Linked DNA regions of Homo sapiens: region 2 is linked to region 1. Evidence: promoter capture Hi-C in 16 types of primary human blood cells and fetal thymus (Javierre and others, 2016). All regions are on one chromosome and are shown on one strand. Each heading gives the region's core, a stretch centred on a gene start or on the middle of the fragment in contact. The rest is flanking DNA. Distances are from core to core; before and after follow the strand shown. Region 1 holds the start of ELL2 (elongation factor for RNA polymerase II 2). Region 2 overlaps LOC101929710 (a long non-coding RNA gene).

Evidence for each region. Contacts are between HindIII fragments. The CHiCAGO score rates a contact against its expected background, and 5 or more counts as called.
Region 2: a fragment that was not itself captured here is called in contact with the fragment with the promoter of ELL2 in region 1 in 4 of 17 cell types (endothelial precursors, M1 macrophages, M2 macrophages and 1 more); the score reaches 7.7 in endothelial precursors.

The regions. Positions count from the first base shown.
Region 1 is chr5:95,960,440-95,964,163 of GRCh38, forward strand. ELL2 (elongation factor for RNA polymerase II 2) reads right to left here and starts at 1,412. Exons shown (of 12, transcript NM_012081.6): 1 at 1,136-1,412. The coding sequence starts at 1,282. LOC101929710 (a long non-coding RNA gene) reads left to right here and starts at 1,562. Exons shown (of 5, transcript NR_130776.1): 1 at 1,562-1,597. It also overlaps a transcript of CAST not described here. RefSeq lists silencers at 826-1,235, 1,306-1,545, 1,501-1,968 and an enhancer at 1,264-2,021. The HindIII fragment of the contact is 3,633 bases long and covers 1-2,658 here.
Region 2 is chr5:96,216,671-96,220,311 of GRCh38, forward strand. The region is part of intron 1 of LOC101929710 (a long non-coding RNA gene); the gene reads left to right. It also overlaps a transcript of CAST not described here. Among named protein-coding and RNA genes, the nearest start is that of MIR583, 140 kb to the left of the region's middle. The HindIII fragment of the contact is 4,538 bases long and covers 1-3,641 here.

The sequences.
Region 1 (3,724 bases), core at 162-2,661:
TGAAAGCGTCTGGATTTGTAGTCCAATTACAGTGTATGTGCGCCTATCTGAGCCTCTCTCTGTACTGGAGGGGTGTGTGTGTATATGTGTGTGTGTGTGTCCATGGGCTTCTCTCGAAAACGAGGGGTGAGAGGCCCGAGTCTCTGCCCGGGATGCATTGTATCCTCCCCACACCTTCTGGCTCTGGCTCGTTCCCCGTTTACACTTCCCAGAGTCAGCCCAAGACGCCGGGAGCTTTTTCGGGTACGTTGAGCGTCCGTGAACCTCTCTCTCCAGAACCCGATGTCTTGCTCCCGGGGAGCGCTAAGTGTGCGTGAGTCCTCAGGTCTCTCCCCAGGGCACTGTGTTGGTTTGTGTCCGTCCTGGACGCGGCGCGTCTCCAGTAACGCGATGCGCCGGTGTCCCGGAGTCCCTGGGAATGCAGGTGTGTCCCCTCCCCCCCCGTACGCGAAGCGCCAGTGTCCCCGCCGTTCCAGTGTGCGCCGCCCCCTTACACGGACTGCCTAAGTCCCTATCTCTATGAGTACACCGTGTGCCCCTCACCATGCGCCCGAGTCCCCATCCCTTCGAGCACACAGTGTGTCCCCTGATACGTGGAGCGCCTGTGTCCCCAAGTCCCTGGGAATACAAGGTCCCACCCCCACACGCGGAGCGCCTGTGTCCTGTCTCTGAGGATCCACCGTGCCTATGTAACTGGAAAACGCGGGCAGCTGGTGCCCGCGAGTCGTCCCTGGTTCCTTGCCCATACGCTGCTCGCTACCCTCCTTCCCCGCCGAGGGTAGCGTGGTCATCTCACTTCTCTTATCGGGGCCTCTCTCCCTCCTTGGGACCCAACAAGCCAGGAAATCCTCGGGGGCCGTCGGAAAGTCCCGCAGCGGCAGCGCAGCCGACCCAGGGCTGCGGCTGCCTCGGCCCCGCCGCCAGGGGCCGCCCGACTGCCCGCTTCCCCAACGCCCAGGCTAGCCCGGGACCGCGGCGTCAGCCACCCTGCCCGGCCCTGCCCTGCCTGGCCGCTGCGGGCGCTGACGGTAGCAGCTGCCAGCCACGGCTCCGCCGGCCCCGCACCCGGGCGCGGCCAGGCCGTGAGGGGTGCGCTCTGCCTCTCTGAGCCCAGCCTGCCGGCCGGCCCGCTCACCTTGTGGCTCTGGTAAGTCTCGAGCGCCCGGATCGCCGTCTCGGTGAGCTTCACATGCAGTACGGTGATGTTGTCCTGCCCCAGCCGTCCGCACGACAGCCCATAGCGCTGCTCCTCCCGCAGGCCCCCTGTCCCCCCCGCCGCCATCTTAAACTCCCCGGGGTGCCGCCGCCGCCGCCGCTCCGGCTCTAGCCTCCACTGCGGCCGCGGCTGCTTGGGCTTCTGCAGCCGCCGCCACTGCTAGGGCCATCCCGCTGCTGACGTACTGTCATATACTGCGCGGAGCCAGACCTCGGACTGCCACCGCCGCCACCCGCCCCACCCTCCGGCCCCGCGCCCCGCCCCGGGCTCGTCTCATTGGTCTTGTTCCCTTCAGAACCGCCCTCATCGGCCGCCCTCCACTCTCACGGGGGCGGGCCCAAAGTCACTAGAGTTTTGCTCCTGGGACGGGACGTCCGAGAGGTAAGAGGCTGACGTCTAGGTGACGCGCCAACTTAATCATGTCTGACGTCACGTCTGGTCGTCTTGGCTAGCCGGCCGAGATTGGCCAGGCTGGCTTGGGGACTCCCCTGCTAATTGGAAGTCCAGGTTGCCTGGTCTGGTTACCTGGAGTTGGAGCCCCGCCCCTGTGGGGGATAGTAGTGAAAAGTCAGAATTGGGGAATCTCGCCCTACGCGGGTGGTCCTTGGAGAGGAGGATCTCCACCTCCACTATGTAAGGGGATGGCCGTGACCAAATAAGGACTTTGTTCCCCGACGGCTGCGGAAGCTGTGGAACTTGGTGCGTGCGTGTGGGGGAGGACGCAGCAGGAGGACTCGCTAGAGAGCTGCTCCTCAAAACTCCTAGTACTGTAGTTGAGCAAACGGCATTGGGAGGAAACTGCTCACTCTAAACTTGAAGTTATCGGGTGCCACACGCAGAGCTTATAAAAACAAAAACAAAAACAAAAACCCTTGAAATTAGTGAGTCGACTCTTAGATGTAGGAGTTGTGTTAGATCTTGTGGAGCATCTTAAGGACAAAATCACGCGGGAGGTTAAATGCCTTTCGTATGGTGGGCATGGTATAATAGAGAATTGAGCTTCGAGGTCTTTCCTACGCCATGCCCTGTTGTGATTCTCTGGGATCACAACTGGTGGGGATGATATCTCCTTAAAAAGGACTCTAGAAGAAGAGTAAAACTGGCATTGATCTAAATTAAAAGAAACCTCGACAATTCTCATTCTCTAATTCAGTTTGAGTATTGTCCTTTTTATTTGATAGGGCTGTGTGAAAACCTAGCTAGGGTTTAAAGGTAAGAGGCTGTCGAGGTTAAGCGAAGGAGATGGGGGCGTGAGGGGCGTGCAAAGGCCTGGCATACTTTCCATTCCATCCACAGGATGCTTCCTGTGTAGGCGTGGCTAAAAGAGGGAGCCTAATCTGGAGTCCCTTTCAGATTGTGTGTGGATAGACTGACAGATGGGTTCCTGTCAGAGGATGGATTAATTGGTTGATCAGAAACACCAGATAAAACAAACCATTGAAAGCTTTCAAACTGTTGAAAGGCAGTTTAAAAAAGTTCTTTTAATAAAAAAACTGAGACGCTTGTTTTTACCCTCAGCTTATAAAACCATGTTCTGTTCTACTGGGATTCCCCGGGAAAGTTTATAGATATTTAATCAGTATTTTTCATTATTTTAAATGGATTAGGGCCATGATTCCATGTCCTCCCCTCCCAATAAATGCCTTCCCCACCGTACGGGTACACTCCTTTTTGATTCAGACCTTCAAACATAGTAGGTGTATAATGTGAATTACAGAATGAATTGGATTAAGTGGAAACACCTGTATTAAGTGTTACTCCATCACAGGAAAACAGTTTGTAAATTGACTTAATTTCAATCCACTAAGATTGGCTAGCTGTTAAGACGTGATTAACGCTTGCTAATTTCATTTACTTTAGTGATACAGTGTTATCTTAAATTCATGTAGTAGAGATATTAAGGTAATCATCAAATTGGATTAAAAAGTTTACTCTTAGAAGGGAAATAGAGGCTTTACTACCTAGTTTTCTCCGCTTTCCAAAAGTAGAAACCTTATTCAAATAGTTCATCTCTAAGCGGACTATAATCTAAAAATAATTCTGTACTTGAACTTTTCTTTTCTCTCTCTCTTTTTTTTTTTTTTTTTTTGATAGTAAAGGACTGAGCACATAGCTAAAGCCTTAATTATTTGGGAGGTGAGGGGGAAGGGAGGTTTGACCGGAACAAGTAAAACCTGTATCCCACTGCTTTTCCGGTGAATGTGGGTAAATCCCCACCCACATGATATCCTAACTTGGCCTACTCTTACTCAGAATTTCTGATGACATCCAAGCGGGTGGGGGAGGAGTAAGGATGGTTTTCGTTGTAGTTTTCAAATATCTGACCTGTAGCTTCTTACTAGTAATTGACTTTTTTTAAAAATTATAATAGGAAAATTTTTCTCATGCCCTATTTTAGTGGGTAACAAATCTTTCACGGATTAATATATTATTGTAGTGAGTTAATGGTTGTTTGTATTTTTCCCCTTTTGAGCTTTTCAACTGTGGAAGGAGGAAATGATCAAGTAC
Region 2 (3,641 bases), core at 563-3,062, 260 kb after region 1:
GATCATGGTGGTGGATATGTTTTCCAGAACTCTAATTTTAGTTTGAAAGCTCAAGTTTTATCATTAGCATCAAATGCTGACAGTTGCTTTTCTGGAAGTTACAGGCTCACTTCATTTATTTTTGAGAAAATGTTTGCCAAGTACCTAAGTCTGAATAACAACAGTTTTCCCGTCATTCCTTTAAATAAAATTGCTTTTCATGACAAAAGTGACTAGTTTAACTTAACAACTCAACTGATTCTCCTCATGAGCTCTTTTTATCCATTGTGCTTTCTGTTGCAGAAGTATTTTATAAGCACTTTACATCACACAGAAAATATTAAAAAGATGTGTACTCAAGAGTTGAGAAGTAATAAAATTATTATTTTTTTATTTTTAGTTTTTTAGAGACAAGGTCTCACTCAGTTGCCCAAGGTGGAGTGCAGTGGTGCAATCATAGCTCCTTGTAGTCTCGAACTCCTGGACTCAAGTGATCTTCCTACCTCAGCCTCTGAAATAGCTGGGACTACAGGTATACACCACCATGCTAGCTAATTTTTTTTTTTTTTTTTATAGAGATGAGGTCTTGCTTTGTTGCCCAGGCTGGTCCTATACTTCTGGCTTCAAGTGATCCTTCTGCCTCAGCCTCCCAAAGTGCTCGGATCATAGGCATCAGCCACTGCGAGTGGCCAAATTAAATTTTTTTTTTTTAACCAAGAACATTATTAAGTTAAACTAGCTTTATGGAAAATAATTGTTTCTTTCTGTTGATTGGTAGTGCATGGTGTTGAAAAGTAAGACAGTGATGACTATAACCATTTGGTGCCGCTCCCTTGATTTGTGGTAAGGTACCAGCCATTTTTCCCACTATTGCTTTTGTGCTATCAGTGCAATGAAAAAGGCAAATTATGTGTTCCTGTACTTATGAAAATAGTTTACTTCTGGATCACACTTGTGAACCACACTTTGAGAACAGCTACTGGACAAAAATGTGAATGGATGATCTATTACTATGCACAACAATATGGATGAGTGTCAGAAATATAATGCTGAATGACGGAAGCCAGACCCAAAATAATACAGGCTCCAGGATCTTTTATATCTAAAGTACAGAAACAGGAAAAACTTAACTTTGGTGTTGGTAATTAGGAGAAGGGTTATCCTTAGGGATGCTGAGTGGAATGAGGCATGAGGCATGGTTTGCTGTGAATGTTCTTTCCTGAGCTAGACATTGGTTACGAGGGTCTGTTCAACTGTGAAATTCATTAGCTGTACGCTTATAATATGTACACTTTCTGTGTGTATGCTATATTTCAATGAAAAGTTCAGAAAATAATACTTACGTTCTTGTGTTTTGTCTCCTACCTCAGTTAATTGAAAGTTCTGGGGGGTGGCCTCTGAGTAGTAATAATCAAGAAAAAGTGACTGTTTGCTTTTTTCGATGCTAGCAATATTAGCTGTTTAAAAGGTTTTGCATGGGTTCAAATTACAGTCTATCGTTTTTAGGATGCTATGTGACTCACACTAGGTGAACACTGACCATGTTTTCCTATGGAATTTTTTTAAATGCAGTATATGTGGTTGGATGCAAGCTGTCTATGGGTTTCTGACCTTCAATGCAATTTTATATTTTCAGTTGATTGTTGTATCTGGAAGGAGATCATAATGAAGCAGAGGCCCTATATTATGCCTGTGGTCCAGCAGAAGGGGCTGGCTGACATGGAAATAATGTATTACATTTATTCATGCTATGGCATAATGAACTAAAAATATTCTGCTGGAGAGGTAGAATTAGAACCAAAAAACATTTTAGGCATTTGGCCTTTGCTAAAATAATATTTCTCTCCCAGTCTTCTCTTCCACCTTCCCTACACATTTAAGTTTTCTTCCTCTTCCAGCTTGGCTAAGGCCCTGCCTCACCCACAAAGCCTTTCCCAACTTCTGCTGCCTGTGGCTACCTCCCCTCTTCTGAACTCAGCACTCTTTTATATTGCCGACCCTCCAGTTTATTTGTTCATTAATTTAATTTATGTTGGTAAACTTATCTAACTCCTACATGTGCTAGGTTTAGGATCCAAAGACAAATATTTCAGACGAGCTGGATAGAAAGACAAGTGAAAAGCTCACTTCAATAAGGTCTGGCAAGTGTGACACTAGAGAGAGGCACAGCAGGCCGGGAGAACACACTGGGAGGCACCAAGTGGGTCAACATCAGGGGAAGTTTAGAGTCAGGCAGCCCTCAACTTGAGCCTTTGCTTTGTTATGTACTGTGTGGGGTGTTTGGCAAGTTACTTAAGGTCACTAAATCTCAGTTTCTTCAGGTGAAAAGTGGAGATATTAGGTGTTCCTATCTTAGGGGCATTGTGAGGAATAAATGAAGCTGTGTGCAGAACAGCTACGTAGTATATGCCTGGCACAGGATAAGTGCTCAGTTAATGTGAGGTATTATCACTATTATTTTTTATGTGTATGATTTCATGGCCCATGTGGTGAATTGTTTGAGCTATGTCATGACAGATATATAATGTCAATTTAACCAAAAATTTTCATTTGTATTTCTTGAACTCATAGAGGTTCAGGCTTAGCACATAATCACACTCCTCAAGAACATCTCTTATTTTTCTTCCCCATCTACTTCTATTATGCATTCAGGAGCTGGCCTTCCTAAGACGCTTCATTCAAAACTATTTTTTGGTTCTCATCCATTTTGCCCCTGTCTCATAGCCCCAAAGTGGCTGTCACAAACCTATGAGACAGGCATTATACCCATTTTATAGATAAAGGAAGTGAGCCTCAGAGAGCTACTAAATAACTGATCCAAGATTATACAGCTAATAAGTGGCATTGCCTAGTCCATGTCAAAGTTGCCAGCCTGGCCAGGCATGGTGGCCCATGCCTGTAATCCCAGCACTTCGGGAGGTTGAGGCAGAAGGATTGCTTGAGCCTAGGAGGTCAAGGCTTCAGTGAGCCATGTTTGTGCCACTGCACTCTGGCCTGGGCAACAAAGTGCGGCCTTGTCTCAAATAAAAAGAAGGAAGGAAGGGAAGGAAGGAAAGGAGGGAGGGAGGAAGGAGAAAGCAAGAAAGGGAAGGAAGGAAGGCAGGCAGGCAGGAAGGAAGGAAGGAAGAAAGGAAGGAAGGAAGGAGAGAAAGAAAAGAAAAAAGAAAAGGAAAAGAAAGAGAAAGGTAGGTGGTTGGCATGTTTAATATCTCTTAAATTCCTTCTCATTGTCTCCACAGAAGACCCCACTCTGTCTCCTGCTAAAGGTCTGTCAGAGCCTGTACAAAGGTTTTAAGGTCACTTTCTTTTGGAGCAGGATGTCTGAAGCTGATGCTGTATGTTGCCCAATGAACAGCCATTCCTTTCCCCTTTCTTCCTTGTTGTTAAAGCCTGTCTCCCACGACAGAGACTGAAAATGCTAAATACTAGTTTTCCCTGCCTCTTTGTTGCTATGGTGTGGGTCTGTGACTCAGTCCTGGCTAATGGGACGTGAGGAGAAGTTTGCTCAGAGGCATCTGAAAAGGGTTTGTCTCCTTAGTACAAAGATATAAGAGGAGTCTCTACTCTCTTCCTACCCTTCCTGTTTTGAACATTGCTTTGTGAAGACATGATGCTTCGGGCTGTGGCAGCCATCTGGTGTCTATAATGTTTTGTGCCCCCTC